Regions from separate parts of the Homo sapiens genome. Here all the other regions are linked to region 2. The links are contacts of gene promoters, found by promoter capture Hi-C in blood cells and fetal thymus (Javierre and others, 2016). All regions are on one chromosome and are shown on one strand. The core of a region is centred on a gene start or on the middle of the fragment in contact, and the rest is flanking DNA. Distances in the headings are between cores, read along the strand shown. Region 1 overlaps HIRA (histone cell cycle regulator). Region 2 holds the start of SLC25A1 (solute carrier family 25 member 1). Region 3 overlaps HIRA (histone cell cycle regulator).

Region 1 (2,700 bases), core at 175-2,674, 230 kb after region 2:
CTTGTCATACTTCTGCTTCCAAACAGCCCTCTTTTGTTTGTGCTGTGAAGTTCCCATACCGTCTGCCATCTCAGCATCTCCTCTGGCTGAACCTCCTTCACAGTTTGTACTCTATGTTAAATTAGCTGTTCAATTCCTCCAGGAGAAAGGACTGTGGCTATTAGTTCTTAGAAGCCCCAAAGAGCCCAGTATGGGCCTAGGCTTGCACTAGGATCCCATGAAGCTAGCTGGCTGGCTGGGTGGGTGGATCAGACCGGCAAAAGCACTGTAGGAGCTTGAAACCCAGCAGACCATAGAAGGCACTCACGCCTGGTGGGCATTTGTCCAGCTCCCTGCTTCTAGGACAAAGGTTTAAGAGCTACAAGTGGCATGTCAGTTGCTGTTGAGTTCATCACATCTTCAGCCTCTAGCACAGTACCCAGTGTACAGTAGCGCAGTAATATTTGTTCATTGACAAAGGAGATACATGACAATGATCTGAGCATCAACAATTGCTGATATAGATGGGCTGTTGCCAAGAGTCTCTTAATTGAACATGTTCTGTCTCTGTCACCCAAGAGGAGGCAATGTGGACACAGTACCAGAGTCACCAGCCCTAGAATCACTCAGCAAGTACTGGGATCAGGAGTGTGTGGGCAGGCAGTGGCTGTCTGAGAACTGTGAAGTCCTGCCAGGGCTCCCATGCAAGTGTGAAAATTAAATGCTGGTGCCCAAAAGGCACTGCCCAGCATGGGACCCAGGCAGCACCCAGCTGTGGAGAGCCGCAGCCATGTAGTCAAATCAAGCATGAACTTGAGATAAAATACACTTTCCTTCTTACTGGTCACTATGTAGTATAGGTTGAGTATCCCTTATCTGAAACACCTGGGACCCGTTTTAACCAAAGGGAAATGACAGAAGTAATGTTGCTCCAGTTCCAGGTGTAGGCCTTAAGAGTCTAGCAGTTCAACTTTGGCTCTCTGGAGAAACCTAGTTGTCATGTGAGAAGTCCAAGTACCCTGAGACCACCATGTTTTGAAGAGGCCCAAGCTGGCCACATGTAGAGCATCAAAGAGCCCGGACAAGTGAGAATCAAGGTCACAGACACAGGCCTGGTGAGGTGTTCTATCCCCAAGCTATTCGAGCCATCCCAGCAGATTCCATAGAGCCAAGATGAGCTGAACCTGCTAAGTCCTGACAAGCTGCAGAATTATGAGCAAATAATAAAACTGTTATTGGTTTAAGCCAGCAAATTTAGGGGTTTGTCATATAAGAGATAAACCAAAATGCCAATTCATTTGCTTTTCTGCTTAAGCCAGCTTGAGCTGGGCATTTGTCATTTTAACAAAAAATGTTCTAGCTGACAGCTTTGGTCTTGACGGGCAATCAGGGCGGAACATTCCCCTCCCCTTGGAGTGCTTTTCAGTTCCATAAGTCTGTGAGACATTGTATTACATCAGTCCCCTCAAGAAGCACACCAGAAACCCTTACCTGCAAGTCACAGTTCCCCTGACTACCCAAGAGCACGTACAGGCTGAGCCAGGCTGTGCTGAGGGCTCAGCTGCACAAGTAACCAATTACAGCCCATGCGCTTTAGATCATGCCCACTCACAGCATCAACTGCATGTTTTCTCACTCAGTCTCTGTTTGCAGATTTCTACTATGTGCCAGGCATTAGGCTAAGCAATGAGAAAGTAAAGATACATAATCATACAAACTCCCCTAGTAAGATGTCCACTGATGGACACTTCACAAGCAGAAAGCCACCTGACTCAGCCTCGGGCTTCCTGCAGAAATAATAACTGAATTGGGTCCCAAGGGTTGAGTAAGAGTTAGCCAGAAGATCGGGTGAAGGAGAGGGTTTTCAGGCTGAGGGGACGCACGGCATGGAATCAAGAAATAGGCTGATGTAATGTTGCAGAGCAGACTGCAGGTAGAGAGTGTGAGAAAGAAGAGGAGACAGAGATGGCTCAGCAAGCATCAGTAAGGAGCTGAGACATTTCTCTAAAGGTACTTTCAAGGCAGGGTAATGCCAAGGTCAGATTCACATTCTGGCTCCACAATAGCAGTGTGGAAAATGGGGGTGGGGGCCTCAAGGCTCCAGGGGAAGGCAGGGATGGAGGCTGGCAACAAGTTTGGGTTTTGGCATTAAACATCATGGGCTGAATCTTTAGCCCTGCCACTTACCCAGCTACAAAGCCTTGAGATTTTATTTTATTTTATTTTTATTATTTTGAGAAGGCGTGCCTGGTTCATTGGCACCAGGTTTCCTTTCCTAGTGCTATGCAGATTAGATGAAATATGGTAGGGGACCTACACAGATACCAGCGCAGTGCTGGCTCCCCGCCTCCTTACAGCACTAGGCCTTTCCATCCCAAGGAAAGCAGTCACTCACATTCCATTAGTGGGAATGAAACTATTTATTTATTTATTTATTTATTTATTTATTTATAGACAGAGTTTCGCTCTGTCGCCCAGGCTAGAGTGCAGTGGCGTGATCTCCACTCACTGCAAGCTCCGTCTCCCAGGTTCACGCCATTCTCCTGCCTCAGCCTCCTGAATAGCTGGGACTACAGGTGCCTGCTACCACGCCCAGCTAATTTTGGTATTTTTAGTAGAAACAGGGTTTCACCATGTTAGCCAGGATGGTCTCGATCTCCTGACCTCATGATCCGACCACCTCAGCCTCCCAAAGTGCTGGGATTACAGGGGTAATCCCGG
Region 2 (2,700 bases), core at 91-2,590:
CTCTGGGACACAGGGCAGCCCTGTGAGCAGCCTCTCCCTTTATGTTTGCTGCTCTTTTCCAGTTTTGGCAGTGAAGGTGTCATTTTGTTTTCTGCTTTATAAAAGTATTTTTTAAAGACTTTAAGGCTGCCTTTAGCATAGACTCAGCCTCCACGGGTGGCCCTTCGTGGCAGGCGTCCTGCCCCAGGGCCCCGCGGTCACCCCGCCGGCCTTCCCTGGCGTCCAGGAGACCCTCCCCAGCTTGCCGGTTGCCCCGGGAGCACCGGGCCAGCGGGGCCGCCCGTCTCCGTACTCCCTGCGTGTCCGGGGTCCTCGCCAGGACCTTCCCCACCTTGATGGTCTCCATGGGGCACACGACCACCACGGCCTCGGCCACGCCAGCGCCCAGGCCGCACAGCAGCCCACGCGTGCTGTCCAGCCGTCCCTGGGCATCCCGCATGTGGTTGCTGAGGAACTCGAACATTCCAAACCTGGAGGCGGGAGGCGGGTGAGAGGGGCTGCCGCGGCCGAGCCCCCCTCCCGCAGCAGCCACCGGCCGGGCCTCACCTGACGGCCGCCTTGGGGATGGAACCGTAGAGCAGGGAGCTAAGGCCGCGGTACAGGCCCAGGACGCCATGGCTGCGAACCGTCTGCCGCACGCAGTCCCCTGGGGGAGGGGGCGGTCAGGACCCCACGGCCCTCGGTGCCGCCGCCCTGGGTACCCGCCCCCCGCGGCGCCGCGGCCTCCCCCTCCTCACCGATGCCCCGGTACCGCGGCGGGTGCGAGCGCTCGTCCAGCTGCAGCTGCGTCTTCACGTACTCGGTGGGGAAGGTGATGCAGATCTCGATGCCACCCGCCAGGCCGCCTGCAGGGACCGGGAACCCGCTCCTGAGACTCCCGCCCGGCCGCTGGCGCTCGGGCCCCTCCCCCGTCCCGGACTTCGGTCGGCGCGGCCGCCGCGCCAGTGCCGCGGGGAACATAGGCTGGGGCCCCACGCCCCCATGCCCTCACCCCGTTGTCCCGGCGAGGCGCAGGGGGTGACAGACGGGAGGCGGGCGAGTCCCAGCGCGCCGGGTGGGGACCAGGACCGCGCCTCCACGACTCCCCAGCCCACGGCCCAACCCGGAAGTGGGGCGGGGCCTCAGCGTCCCGGGCCCACCCAGAAGCGCGGCGGGAGAGGGGTCCGCGTCCCGGAGGGGCCCACCTGCCAGGATCGCCTTCCCCGGGTGCGTCAGCTTGGCCTTCCCGGACGCGGGCGCGGCGGCCGCCAGAGCGCGCGGGGCGCGGGGCGCGGGCATGGCGGGCGGGAGGCGGGGCGCCCTGTGGCGGCTTCGGGTCCGAGACTCCAGAACTCCGCGCTCGGTCCGCGGTGGCGGCGGCGGCCGGTTATGGTCCCAGGGGCGGGGCGGCCGCGTCAGCTCCAGGTCCCGCCCCGCGTGGTCCGAGCCAGGCCCCGCCCCCAGCCCGCCCCGTGCGGGCCGGGAAACTGAGGCCTGGGCGGGGCGCGCCGAGGCAGGCGTAGGGGCGGGGCCAAAGCGCAGCCAATGGCCGAGGCCGAGTCCCTGGGCGACCGCGAGCGGCGGGACGGGGGCGGGGCTGCGGGAGGCGGAGCCGTGGCCCAGCTCCGAGCAGTGGGTCAAGGTGCACTGTGTGCCGCGCCGCGGGATAGCGGGCCTCGGGTCTGCGCGACTGTCGAGAGCGGCGGGATCCCCAGGGATCCCGGAGGCCAGGGGCACACCCTCCCCGAAAACACGTGGGGCTAGCCCAGTCCCAGAGGAACTCTAACGTTTCAAACCTGGAGGCGGGAGGCGGGAGGCCGGTGAGAAGGGGCTACGCCGCCGGGCCCCCCTCCCGCAGCAGCCACGGGCCGGGCCTCACCTGCCGGTTCCCACCCACACCTTTCCCGGTTGTAGTTTCTGCGCTCAGCGAACAAGGTCAGGAAAGACCACAAATGCAAGCGGCTGTATTCTCCTAGGCAGCTTGTCTGGGCAACGGAGGTCCCACACCCCAAAGAGGACCCAGCAAATCTTTAATGGACTGCGGGGCCTAGGAAACTGGCCCGTCCCTCCTACCCATACCAGCACCAAGCAGAGCACCTTTGCCTGGATAAACCGACTTTAATATTTATGATTGCCAAGAGGCTGAGAGTCCTTTTATGAGGTCCGGTACCTCCAAACAAGACGTGTTCATGTAGTCTTCAAACTGGCCTGGAGGGGGCAGCTCCAGCCAGTCGGAGGCGCCCAGGAGGAAGGCCTGGCTCCAGCAGGAGGGCCCACAGTCCAGTCTCTGTTGTCGGCTAAAGCTGGTCTTGCGCCGTCAGCCTCTACCCTGGCCTCCCCAGGCTCTGGGATGGCTCAGAGGTTGCCGTCATTGGGTTTCAGCAAAAATAAATATTGTCCAGGTGTCCCTGCCTCCCATTGCGTCCCCTGTGCTGCTGGAGTGACATGCTCCTTGGAGAAGTTAGTAACTCTGCAGGTAGGGTGGGTGGTGACAACGCCCACTACACGCGGAAGTTGTACATTGGAGGCTGGCGAAGTTGGGAGCAGAGGCATATCCATAGGGGAAGCTGGCAGGGGCTGGGCCCACGGCAGGGCCTGCAGAGGGGGAAGCCCACAATGAGCAGAGCTCTTCCTGCCCATGGGGGTCCTCTCCTGGCTGCCCCTGAGTAGCCCGGGGCCCAGGGAGCAGGGTCTATAGGACCAGCCCTTACCACCCAGACG
Region 3 (2,700 bases), core at 29-2,528, 180 kb after region 2:
CAGGGAACCTGCTCAAGGGCCCTGGGTGAGTCAAGGGCACATCTGAGGGAGAGCGTGGCCTCCATGCTACATTCCAGGGGCTGCATGTCTAAGCCAGCTGGTTCCCAAGGTGACCCACCCAGCTGAGGCTTACCATGCACACAGGGCCTTCAAGCTCTAAGTACAGAAAGGTGGGCTAAAGAAGGCAGGATGGGCCCACTGGCCTCACCTGGACAGACAGAGACACAGGCATGAGACGAGAGTCCTTCCGAGGCCGCCCTTTCTTCTTCTTCTCTACTGTCTCTACCTCAAGCTCAAGTTTTCGCTTGGACAGTGAGGAAGCCTTAGCCAAAGGGACTTTCTCATCGCTGTCACTGCTGCTCTCCAGGAGGTCTCGGGGCCTCAGCTCTTTCACAAGGTTCTGCTCTTTTAACCTGCACAAAAACATTACATCACACTTCCCTTCAGAAACCATTCATGCAAGAAAGAGTGAAGTGAAATATTTAAAGTGCTTAAACAAACCTCTTGCCAACCTAGAATTCTGTGTCCAGTGAAATTATGCCTCAAAAGTAAAGGAGAAATAATGACTTTGTCAGACAAAAATAAACAAAGAGACACCGGAATCTGTTGCCAGAAGACCTGCCTTGCAAGAAATGTTAAAAGTCTTTCAGAGAGAAGATAAATGATGCAGGCCAGAAACTCACATCTGCATGAAGAAAGGAAGAGTGATGTTAGAGAAAAAAAACAATGAACATAAAATAGAATCTTTTGTATTTCATATTCCCAACTGATCTGAGAGACAACTTTCTGTTCAAACAAATAACAGCCACCATGTCTTGAATTACTATAGTTTATGAATGAGTGAAATAAGTGGTACCAATGTCATAGGGCATGGAAGGAAAGAGTGGGGAACTCTTTCTACTACCCATGAAGTGGTATAATATTATTTGAAAGTAGAGTTAGGTTATAAATGTTTATTGTAAACTCTAGAGCAATCACTAAAAAAAATTTTTTAAAGCATAATTAATAATGCTGAGAGGAGAGAAAATTTATTTTTATTTTATTATCATTTTTTTTTTGGAGATGGATTTTCACTCTTCTCGCCCAGCCTGGAATGCAATGGTGTGATCTTGGCTCACTGCAACATCCACCTACTGGGGTCAAGTGATTCTCCTGCCTCAGTCTCCCAAGTAGCTGGGATTACAGGTGTGTGCCACCACGCCTGGTTAATTTTTGTATTATTAGTAGAGACAGGGTTTCATCATGTTGGCCAGGCCAGTCTTGAACTCCTGACCTCAGGTGACCTACCCGCCTCAGCCTCCCAAAGTGTTGGGATTATGGTCGTGAGCCACCATGCCTGGCTGAGAAAACTGAATCATATAAAATACTCAGCTAAAACCAGAGAAGGCAGAAAAAGAAGATAAAAAGAAGTGAAGATTAAAAAAAAAGAATAAGGCCGGGCACGGTGGCTCACGCCTGTAATCCCAGCACTTTGGGAGGCTGAGGTGGGTGAATCACCTGAGGTCAGGAGATTGAGACCGTCCTGGCCAACACGGTGAAACCCTGTCTCTACTAAAATACAAAAAATTAGCCGGGTGTGGTGGCGTGTGCCTGTAGTCCCAGCTACTCGGCAGGCTGAGGCAGGGCAATTGCTTGAACCCAGGAGGCAGAGGTTGCAGGGAGTCAAGATCGTGCCACTGCACTCCAGCCTGGTGACAAAGTGAGATTCCGTCTCAAAAAAAAAAACAAAAAAAACAAAAAAAAGAAATGGGTTTATGTTTTTAAAAATTTAATTTTAACTACAAAAGACAAAGACAGATTAATAGTAGGTGGACACAGTGGCTCATGCCTGTAGTCCCAGCTACTTGGTAGGCTGAGGCAGGAGGACTGCTCGAGCCCAGAGGCTTGAGAGCAGCCTGGGCAAAATAATGAGACCCCATCTCTAAGAACAAAAAATAAGTAAATAAATAAATACAAGAAAAGGGGTGATTCTAACTATATGACAACCTGGAACAGGCAAAACCATGGAGACAATAAAAAGATCAGTGGTTTCCAGGGGTTGGGGAAAGGAAGGTAACTATATGAAGCACAGAATTTTTAAGGCATTGAAACTATTCTGGCTGGGTGTGGTGGCTCTTTCCTGTAATTCCTACACTTTGGGAGGCCAAGGTGGGCAGATCACTTGAGGTCAGGAGTTTGAGACTGGCCTGGCCAACATGGTGAGACCCCATCTCTACTAAAAATACAAAAATTAGCCACGTGTGGTGGCATACACATGTAATCCCAGCTACCTGGGAGGCTGAGGTAGGAGAATTGCTTGAACCTGGGAGGCGGAGGTTGCAGTGAGCCGAGATGCGACTGTGCCACCGCACTCCAGCCTGGGCAATAGAGCGAGACTCTGTCTCGAAAAAACCCAAAAAACTATTCTGTAAGATATATAATGATGAATATATGTCATTATACATTGGTTAAACCCGTAAAACGTACAACATCAAGAGTAGACCCAAATGTAAACTTTGGGTGACGGTGTGCCCCACTCTGGTGGGGGATGCTGAAAGTGGGGGATGCTATGGGTATGTTGGGGAGGCGGGCATGTGGGAACTCTTTGTATTTCCTGTTCAATTTAGCTGTGAACCTAAACTGCTCTAACAAATAAAGTCTATTAAAAAAAAAAAGCGAGGACTGGAGAAAGACATGCCATGATAACACTAATCAAAAAAA

Evidence for each region. Contacts are between HindIII fragments. The CHiCAGO score rates a contact against its expected background, and 5 or more counts as called.
Region 1: a contact is called between a fragment that was not itself captured here and the fragment with the promoter of SLC25A1 in region 2, in 1 of 17 cell types (megakaryocytes). The highest score is 5.2, in megakaryocytes.
Region 3: a fragment that was not itself captured here is called in contact with the fragment with the promoter of SLC25A1 in region 2 in 1 of 17 cell types (total B cells); the score reaches 5.3 in total B cells.

What each region holds. Positions count from the first base shown.
Region 1 is chr22:19,411,200-19,413,899 of GRCh38, forward strand. The region is part of intron 1 of HIRA (histone cell cycle regulator); the gene reads right to left. Among named protein-coding and RNA genes, the nearest start is that of HIRA, 19 kb to the right of the region's middle. The HindIII fragment of the contact is 3,879 bases long and covers 1-2,700 here.
Region 2 is chr22:19,177,396-19,180,095 of GRCh38, forward strand. SLC25A1 (solute carrier family 25 member 1) reads right to left here and starts at 1,341. Exons shown (of 9, transcript NM_005984.5): 1 at 1,185-1,341; 2 at 738-845; 3 at 547-646; 4 at 332-470. The coding sequence starts at 1,278. CLTCL1 (clathrin heavy chain like 1) reads right to left here. Exons shown (of 33, transcript NM_007098.4): 33 at 2,078-2,574. RefSeq lists silencers at 558-1,637, 1,838-1,937 and an enhancer at 639-1,386. The HindIII fragment of the contact is 6,402 bases long and covers 1-2,700 here.
Region 3 is chr22:19,361,519-19,364,218 of GRCh38, forward strand. HIRA (histone cell cycle regulator) reads right to left here. Exons shown (of 25, transcript NM_003325.4): 16 at 209-413. Among named protein-coding and RNA genes, the nearest start is that of HIRA, 69 kb to the right of the region's middle. The HindIII fragment of the contact is 4,046 bases long and covers 1-2,700 here.